Regions from separate parts of the Homo sapiens genome. Here region 2 is linked to region 1. The links are contacts of gene promoters, found by promoter capture Hi-C in blood cells and fetal thymus (Javierre and others, 2016). All regions are on one chromosome and are shown on one strand. The core of a region is centred on a gene start or on the middle of the fragment in contact, and the rest is flanking DNA. Distances in the headings are between cores, read along the strand shown. Region 1 holds the start of SORCS1 (sortilin related VPS10 domain containing receptor 1). Region 2 overlaps SORCS1 (sortilin related VPS10 domain containing receptor 1).

Evidence for each region. Contacts are between HindIII fragments. The CHiCAGO score rates a contact against its expected background, and 5 or more counts as called.
Region 2: a fragment that was not itself captured here is called in contact with the fragment with the promoter of SORCS1 in region 1 in 1 of 17 cell types (erythroblasts); the score reaches 5.8 in erythroblasts.

Annotation. Positions count from the first base shown.
Region 1 is chr10:107,163,062-107,166,871 of GRCh38, reverse strand. SORCS1 (sortilin related VPS10 domain containing receptor 1) reads left to right here and starts at 2,166. Exons shown (of 26, transcript NM_052918.5): 1 at 2,166-2,903. The coding sequence starts at 2,346. RefSeq lists a silencer at 2,257-2,450. The HindIII fragment of the contact is 2,762 bases long and covers 1,040-3,801 here.
Region 2 is chr10:106,725,888-106,729,697 of GRCh38, reverse strand. All of the region lies in intron 6 of SORCS1 (sortilin related VPS10 domain containing receptor 1), which reads left to right. Among named protein-coding and RNA genes, the nearest start is that of SORCS1, 440 kb to the left of the region's middle. The HindIII fragment of the contact is 2,627 bases long and covers 460-3,086 here.

The DNA.
Region 1 (3,810 bases), core at 917-3,416:
AGGAAATCTGAATCCACTAATGTCTTCTTTTCCATTTTGCTTCTTCCAGCCTATATTTGGATGATAATTTATTTGGGTTCTGATTCTTTAATCTGCTTTTCCTTTCTTGGAGGAATTCCCATGTACTTATCCAGACTGGAAAGGAGGTTAGCAGGGCATAGAAAGAAGTCATTAAGTAAATGATCCTGCAAAGCTCTAAAAACCTTTCTGAGGAAAGAAAAAACTACCGCTCTGGGTTTTGACAAAGAACATTTGCAATTTGAGGAGGAGAGAGGACCTCTGGCTCTCCTCTCCTCCATCTAGAGGCCATAGCCTGCCAGACAGCCTTTCTGTTTTGGAGGATTCAGGCATAAAGGAGCTTTTGCTTGTATTTCTTCTTTAACGACAAACAGGACACTCTTTTAGGTCCTTTTAGGTACTCAAGTTTAATGGCTGAGAAGCCTGCCCTCCTTGCATTTGCACTTTTTCTGCGCTGGTCGTAAGAACAAGAACTTAGGCCGATATTTTACAACACCTCTCTGGATTGGATTGATATAACAGACGTTTTCTTGGACATTAGAAAGAATTTCATTAATTGAAGAGTAATTATCACTCTGTATTACTTTGAACTTGGCCTCATCGCAAACACGGTATACAGATTTTTCAGTGAGGTTATTATTCTAGTATGAAAATGAACAAAAATGTAACTAGAAACTGGAATCGGTACTATTTTGTTGTGTCATTCATTTATTCAATCAGTAAATATTCATTAAATAATGTAATAACATGTACCTAAGAGAATATTACGTATATGAAGACTGCAAAGAAATCTGAAACCATTTCAACCCTTAGAAGCAAACTGTCTACTTTAAAAAGGATTGGATTTTGAGAAATCCTTTGCCGTTTTCAAAGCCCATTCACCTGCTATAAATCTTCATCTGAACTTACGAATAGTAGCAGGGTGCTAGGCTGGGCAGATACTATAATCATACAATTATAGAATTTTAGGAGCGGAAGGGATTTTAAAGGTCATCTAATGTGACCATTTAATTTTAAAGCTTAGGAAGCTGACAGATTGTGATTTGTCTGAGGTCCCAAAGCAAACCAGTGGCAGAGCACCATCACAGACTTGCTATTAGGGATCTCAAAGCATGTGGCAGTAGCACTGGGCCAGGCACCAAGTGACACAGAATAACTATAAGTACTGTGCCTCCTTTCCTGTATTTATTTGTTATGCAGATATGCATTAGACTCACAATAAATATTTATTGAACTAATGACTGGCAGATTTCCTCCCATGTAGGGTACTGTGCCACGTACTGAGGAAAATGGTAAACAAAAAACAGGTCACTTCCTCCAAGTTGCTCGAAATTTGATCTTCCTGTCCTCAATGAGTTTGCAGTCTCTTAGGGAAACCAAGATATATACGCTTAAAAAACGCGTAGTGGAAAGCGTTTTCTTAAATATGATTGCATGCAGGAAGATTGGGTTCAAATTCAGTGAATGCTTTAGGAGGTTAGGAGAGAAATCTAAGCGTTAAAATTGATGGGAAAAAAAATCCCCCAAACTAACACACACACACACACACACACACACACACTCACACACGAGATCATTTAATTACATCACTCTCTGCTGCTGCCTTTCCGGGATCTCCCCCCAGGCTGGGACACACAGGCTCTGCTGCGGGTAAGGTCAAGATGCCAACTCAGGAAGCATAAGAGAGGGAAGGAGCAGAAGCCCACCCATCCCTATCTCCTCAACTAGAAAAGACCAGAAAGACGGAGAAAAAAGGAAACAGCAACATAGACTCATAGAAACAATAAAGCAGGAATAGGAAGCTCCCGACACATCGACTGCTCCGGGAGCCCGGGGTCGACCGCCCCCGCGGGCAGGGTGCGCGGACTCAGCGCCGGGACCCGCGGCCGCGGGGGCGCAGAGTGGGCGGCGGGGAGAGGCGGCGGCAGCGCCTGCGAGGCCGAGGGGAGGTCGCCGGCGGCGCCTCCAGCGCCCGGAGACCCGGTGCGCAGCGCAGCTCGGCCGCGGGACGCGGCGCCCGGAGTCCCGGCAGCGCCTGCCCTCCCTCCCGCGTCGCCCGCCAGCGCCCGCGCCCGCTCCGCCAGTGACTTCAGCTCAGCTCCACCCCCGCGCGGCGGCGGCTCGCTCCGTCCGGACCCGCGCTCGGCACAAGCCCAGCCCGGGCAAGCGGCCGCCACCTGCCCGGCGCCGCCTCCGCCCGCCCCCACCGCGGCGCAACTTGGATGGAGTTGGGGTCCTGAGCGCCGGCCCCCCACAGCCGCCAGCGCAGAGCTCGTGCCGCCACCTTCGTTCTGGGACCCCTCTCTCCGCTGCTCTTCGCTCCCGCGATGGGAAAAGTTGGCGCCGGCGGCGGCTCCCAAGCCCGGCTGAGCGCGCTCCTCGCCGGCGCGGGGCTCTTGATCCTCTGCGCCCCGGGCGTCTGCGGCGGCGGCTCCTGCTGCCCCTCGCCGCACCCCAGCTCCGCTCCACGCTCGGCCTCGACCCCTAGGGGCTTTTCCCACCAGGGGCGGCCAGGCAGGGCTCCTGCCACGCCCCTGCCCCTCGTAGTGCGTCCCCTGTTCTCAGTGGCCCCCGGGGACCGAGCGCTATCCCTGGAGCGGGCTCGGGGCACTGGGGCATCCATGGCGGTTGCTGCACGCTCCGGCCGGAGGAGACGGAGCGGAGCGGATCAGGAGAAGGCAGAACGGGGAGAGGGCGCGAGTCGGAGCCCCCGGGGAGTGCTAAGAGATGGAGGGCAGCAGGAGCCTGGGACTCGGGAGCGGGACCCGGACAAAGCCACCCGCTTCCGGATGGAGGAGCTGAGACTGACCAGCACCACGTTTGCGCTGACGGGAGACTCAGCACACAACCAAGCCATGGTCCACTGGTCTGGCCACAACAGCAGCGTGAGTAGAATGGGACTGAGGGTAAAGGGGTGGAAAGATGGAAAGGGTTAAAGTCGGCTGTGTGATCTGATGGAGAATTGGGGGGAAATAGGGTTTCTGGACATGGGAGATGCTGCAAACTGGTCTCTGCCCACTTCCCCCAAGAGTTAACATCACCTACTAGGAGACCAACCTCCCCATCTCTCCCACCAACACCATCAGAGTCCTCTCCAAATGCCACAGCTTCAAACTGAGGAGTCAAATCCCTATTTCCTGTTGCCTTGGTCGCATTGGTGTGTGGAACTGAAGACCAGGTAAACAGAGGGGTTAAAGTTCTCCTAATACAGAGATGAAAGGGTTAAATTTCCAGGCAAGCTGACATCCCCTCAAGTGACTTTCCCTTTACTTGCCAGACCTATGTACTGGCTCAAAGAAGATTAAGAAGACCCATATATGTAGGCGTTTTATTTTATTTTATTTTAATTTCATGCGGAGCTCCTAACCCCTTCTTCTCCACAAGGGAGAACTGCAGTGGAGAGTATATAAGGTGTTCTTTAGTGTATCCTCTGCTTTAGGGACCAAGTGGATGCAAGTTTCAGGGCAGGAACTCTCCAGCATCTTCTAACAGCGCTAAGCGAGGGTGTTTTGAGAACTGGGGCTTTCCAGCCCGTGAATGAGCGGTTGTTCTCTGGCATGGTCAGTCCCAGGAAGATCAGATATATCCCAGTGACAACAACTCCCTGTTCTCCCCCATTGCCTGACCTCCTCTAATGAAGAGCACAAATAAAGACTTAACATTCCCTTTATGAAGGCAGGAAAGGGATTGCTCAATTCCAGGAGGCTGGATTCCAGGGGACTTAGGATGCAAGTCCATGAGCTTTGGTCCTATCAGGAAAGGTTTTAGATTTTCAGAAAAGCTTGCATGTCT
Region 2 (3,810 bases), core at 524-3,023, 440 kb after region 1:
TATCCAGAAATATGCATATTTTGATAGTGGTGATACCAGCACAGCCCTCTCATCCAATCAAAGTGTCTTTCCAGGTAAAGAGAATACTTCCAAACTCTTGATTCCTAAAGTGTTTCATTGTTGTTGCTGCTGCTACTCTTTTGTGTTGAATTGTTTCTTCAGTCTCCTTATTTTGTCAGATACCATCCAGGCCATGCCTCACTGTCTTGTTTGGAGATTCACAAAACACTTGGAAAGAATTAAAAAAAAAAAAAGAGAGAGAGAGAATTTTTCTGTGTGTCCCCATGAGAGGCAGCAGGAGGAGAGTCAGTTGAGTGAATTGCTCACCTGTCAGTAGTTCTTATCAACTCCGGGTGGTTATGCTGCAGTGAAGGACAGGACTACACTTTGTAGCCTCATGACAATGTTGTAGGTTGTTTTTCTCATTTCACATATGAAGAAGCAAAGGCATAGAAAGCTTAAGTAATAATATAGCTAAGCTAATATGGTAAATAAGTAGAGGACAGTGATGTCTATCTCACAGAGCCTATTCAGGTGAGAATTCAAGAAACCCATGCATATACAATACTTCACACAGTGCCTGACCTACTAACACCAGCAATGAATGTTTCCTTCCCCTTCTCTGGTACAGAGGATCCTCAGAAGGGCTAAGCATTTGCAGGGGTACCGCTAGGCCTAGGATAGAGCACTCCAGGTGAGGGGGTAAAAGAAAATGAGAAAAGGGGGAAACTGTATATAGAAGAGGGTGAGGGGAGAAAAGACAGGGAGAAAGGAAGAGGTCTCAGATGTAGAGGAGAGGAAGAGAATGGACTATCCACAATTACCACAGAGCAATGAGGCTGTTGTAGGCTACCCAGCGCTGGCCCAGAGAGTGACCATCTCATTTCCAAGACCTTCCCAGTTTCTAAAATATCCCTCACAATTCAAAAGCACCCTAATCACTGCCGTTTGTGCCTACCAGTCCTTGGCTCTTCTGAACACAAAGGCAGAAGGTCCTGCACTTTACCAGCTTACAGCCAAACAAAGCAGGTCAACCCTATAACCCAAACTCCCCAGAAACCACACATTTTTCATTACTATGCATGTACCATGAGATTTCTCATCTCTAAAGGTTTGTTTCCCTTTTGGGGGAGTGAATATATTTTTTGACAGAGTCAGTTGGGGCACAGGTTAGGGATCAAGGCTGACCATCATCCTCTGTAACCCAGGCAAAGCTGCCACATGTAACATGCCCAGCACTGTGCCTGACACAGAATGAGCTCAACAGGTCAGAGCAGCTTTCCCACCTCCTCAGGGGGCTCGCTCTGGTGGTGACGTCTCCATTTCCCTGGAGCAGATGATGTTATCTTGGATTCCAAGGTCCAGTTCTTGCTACATAACAGATCAATATTTTCTTAATGCAAAAGTAAACACATCATTGTTTAAAAGTCTTGCTTACTGGAGATAGAGACCATCCTGGCCAACATGGTGAGACCCCATCTCTACTAAAAATACAAAAATTAGCTGAGTGTGGTGGTGCGTGCCTGTTGTCCCAGCGACTTGGGAGGTGGAGGCAGGATAATCACTTGAACCCAGGAGGCGGAGGTTGCAGTGAGCTGAGATCGCACCACTGCTCTCCAGCCTGGCGACAGAGCCAGACTCCGTCTCAAAAAAAAAAAGTCTTGCTTACTTCCCATTGCTTTGATGATAAAGAGCTAAATTCTCATCTTGACCTATAGCTCCAGCATAACTTGTGTCTGCCCATTCCCTCAGCCTAATCTTAGTCTGCCCTCTCCTCACTCGTTGCCTGCAGGCCTTTAGGCGGGTTTTCAATTCTTGGAACATACAGGGGTATGTGTCTTGCCATAAAGCCTTGGTACATGCTGTTTTCTCTATCTGGAATACCCTTCTTTCTTGCCCATACCCTGACCAATCGAGCATAATTGATTACTGTGGATGGTTGAGACCTCAGGTTAATCGCCTATTTCTTAGAAAAGCCTCTCGTAAACTCTCAGTCTAAATGAGTTTCTTATTTTGATTGCTTTTATACAACTATTTTTTTTCTTTATCATGTTCTTCTCTGTTTGAAATTATACTTTCTTTTTACGTGTTTATTCGATCACAACCGTTTCTCGCCACCAGTCTGTAAGTTTTATGAGAGCAGGGACCATGTATATCATATTCAGTATTGTGTCTCCAGAGCCAGGAATGGTAGCACACATCTGTAGTCCCAGCTAGTCAGAAGGCTGAGGCAGGGGGATCATTTGAGCCCAGGAGTTCAAGACTGTAGTGCACTGTGAACACAACTGTGAATAGCAACTTTACTCCAGCCTGGGCAATATAGTGAGATCCCATGTCAAAACAAAAACATTATGTCTCCAGCACATGCCATGGCATCTACATGTAGAGAGATCTCACTAAGCATATGTTGAATGATGGCATACCCGGCTGACCAGTTGTCAGGGCTACCAGTGGCTATCTCACCTCACTTACCAGGTTGTCTGAAAATGCTAGAGCCTCACATCTTAAACCTTAGCATGTATGCTACCCACCTAGGGACCTTGTTAAGATCTGCATTGTAATTCAGTAGGGGCCTGACAGTCTGCATTTCTTTTTTCTTTTTTTTTTTTTTTGAGACAGAGTCTCGCTCTGTCACGCAGGCTGGAGTGCAGTGGCACTATCTCGGCTCACTGCAAGCTCCGCCTCCCAGGTTCAGGCCATTCTCCTGCCTCAGCCTCCTGAGTAGCTGGGACTACAGGCACCCGCTACCACGCCCGGCTAATTTTTTGTATTTTTAGTAGAGACGGGGTTTCACCGTGTTAGCCAGGATGGTCTCGATCTCCTCACCTCGTGATCCGCCCGTCTCGGCCTCCCAAAGTGCTGGGATTATAGGCGTGAGCCACCGCACCCGGCCGAGAGTCTGCATTTCTAACAAGCTCCTAGATGATATCCATGCTGCGGGTCTGTGAAACATGCTTTGAGTAGCAAAGTTCCACAACAGAAAATTAGTGAAAGAGCTTGAGGGTCTGTTTCCCATGATTGCACCCCTAGTTTAGGAAGCTCTGGATGGAATTGGTAGCATCCCGGGTTGCTTTCATTTTCAAGCTTTTGGGCATATGCTGCTGTTTTCTGGCTTGTGGCATCCAATGCACATGACGCTTTATCCTAAAAACAATGAGGCCATCACTCTCTGTGATCTGCACATTTTCTTACACCCAGCATTATTCCTGTGCTCCCTGAAGGCATGGCGGTTGATAATGCCAAACTGTCATCTCAGGCTTAGCTTTCACAAAGCATGAAATGTATCAGTTCTAATTTTATTTATTTTACTTTTTTTTTTTTTTTTTTTTTTTTTTTTTGCGAAGGCAGCATCTTCAGAAACTATCCAAGGGTGAAAATTCAATAAAAGGATTTAATTTGAAAAGTTAGCCCTGTCGAAACAAAACAGGAAAAAAAAAATCTACCAATTGTTTTAAAGGGTCCAAGCATAACACCTGACCTGTCACAGTGTAAAAAAAAAAAAAAAAAAAAAAGAGAGGGAAAGAGATTGTCTCAATAACCAAGGCTCCAGTTAAAACAACAACAACAACAACAAAATAAACAGAGAGGAGGAGGTTGGAAGTAAATAGCACAGAGAGGTCAGGGTAGCAAGGTGTCAGCAAATGTAGTGGGCAAAGTTTGACAGTGTATTTATCAAAATCAGGTTACAGTCTCATCAGCTGCACTACGAATTTCATATCTCTGTGTTATCTCTTTCTCATTTCCTATTTTTTTTTTTTTTTTTTCCTGAGACAGAGTCTCACTCTGTCACCCAGTCTGGAGTGCACTGGC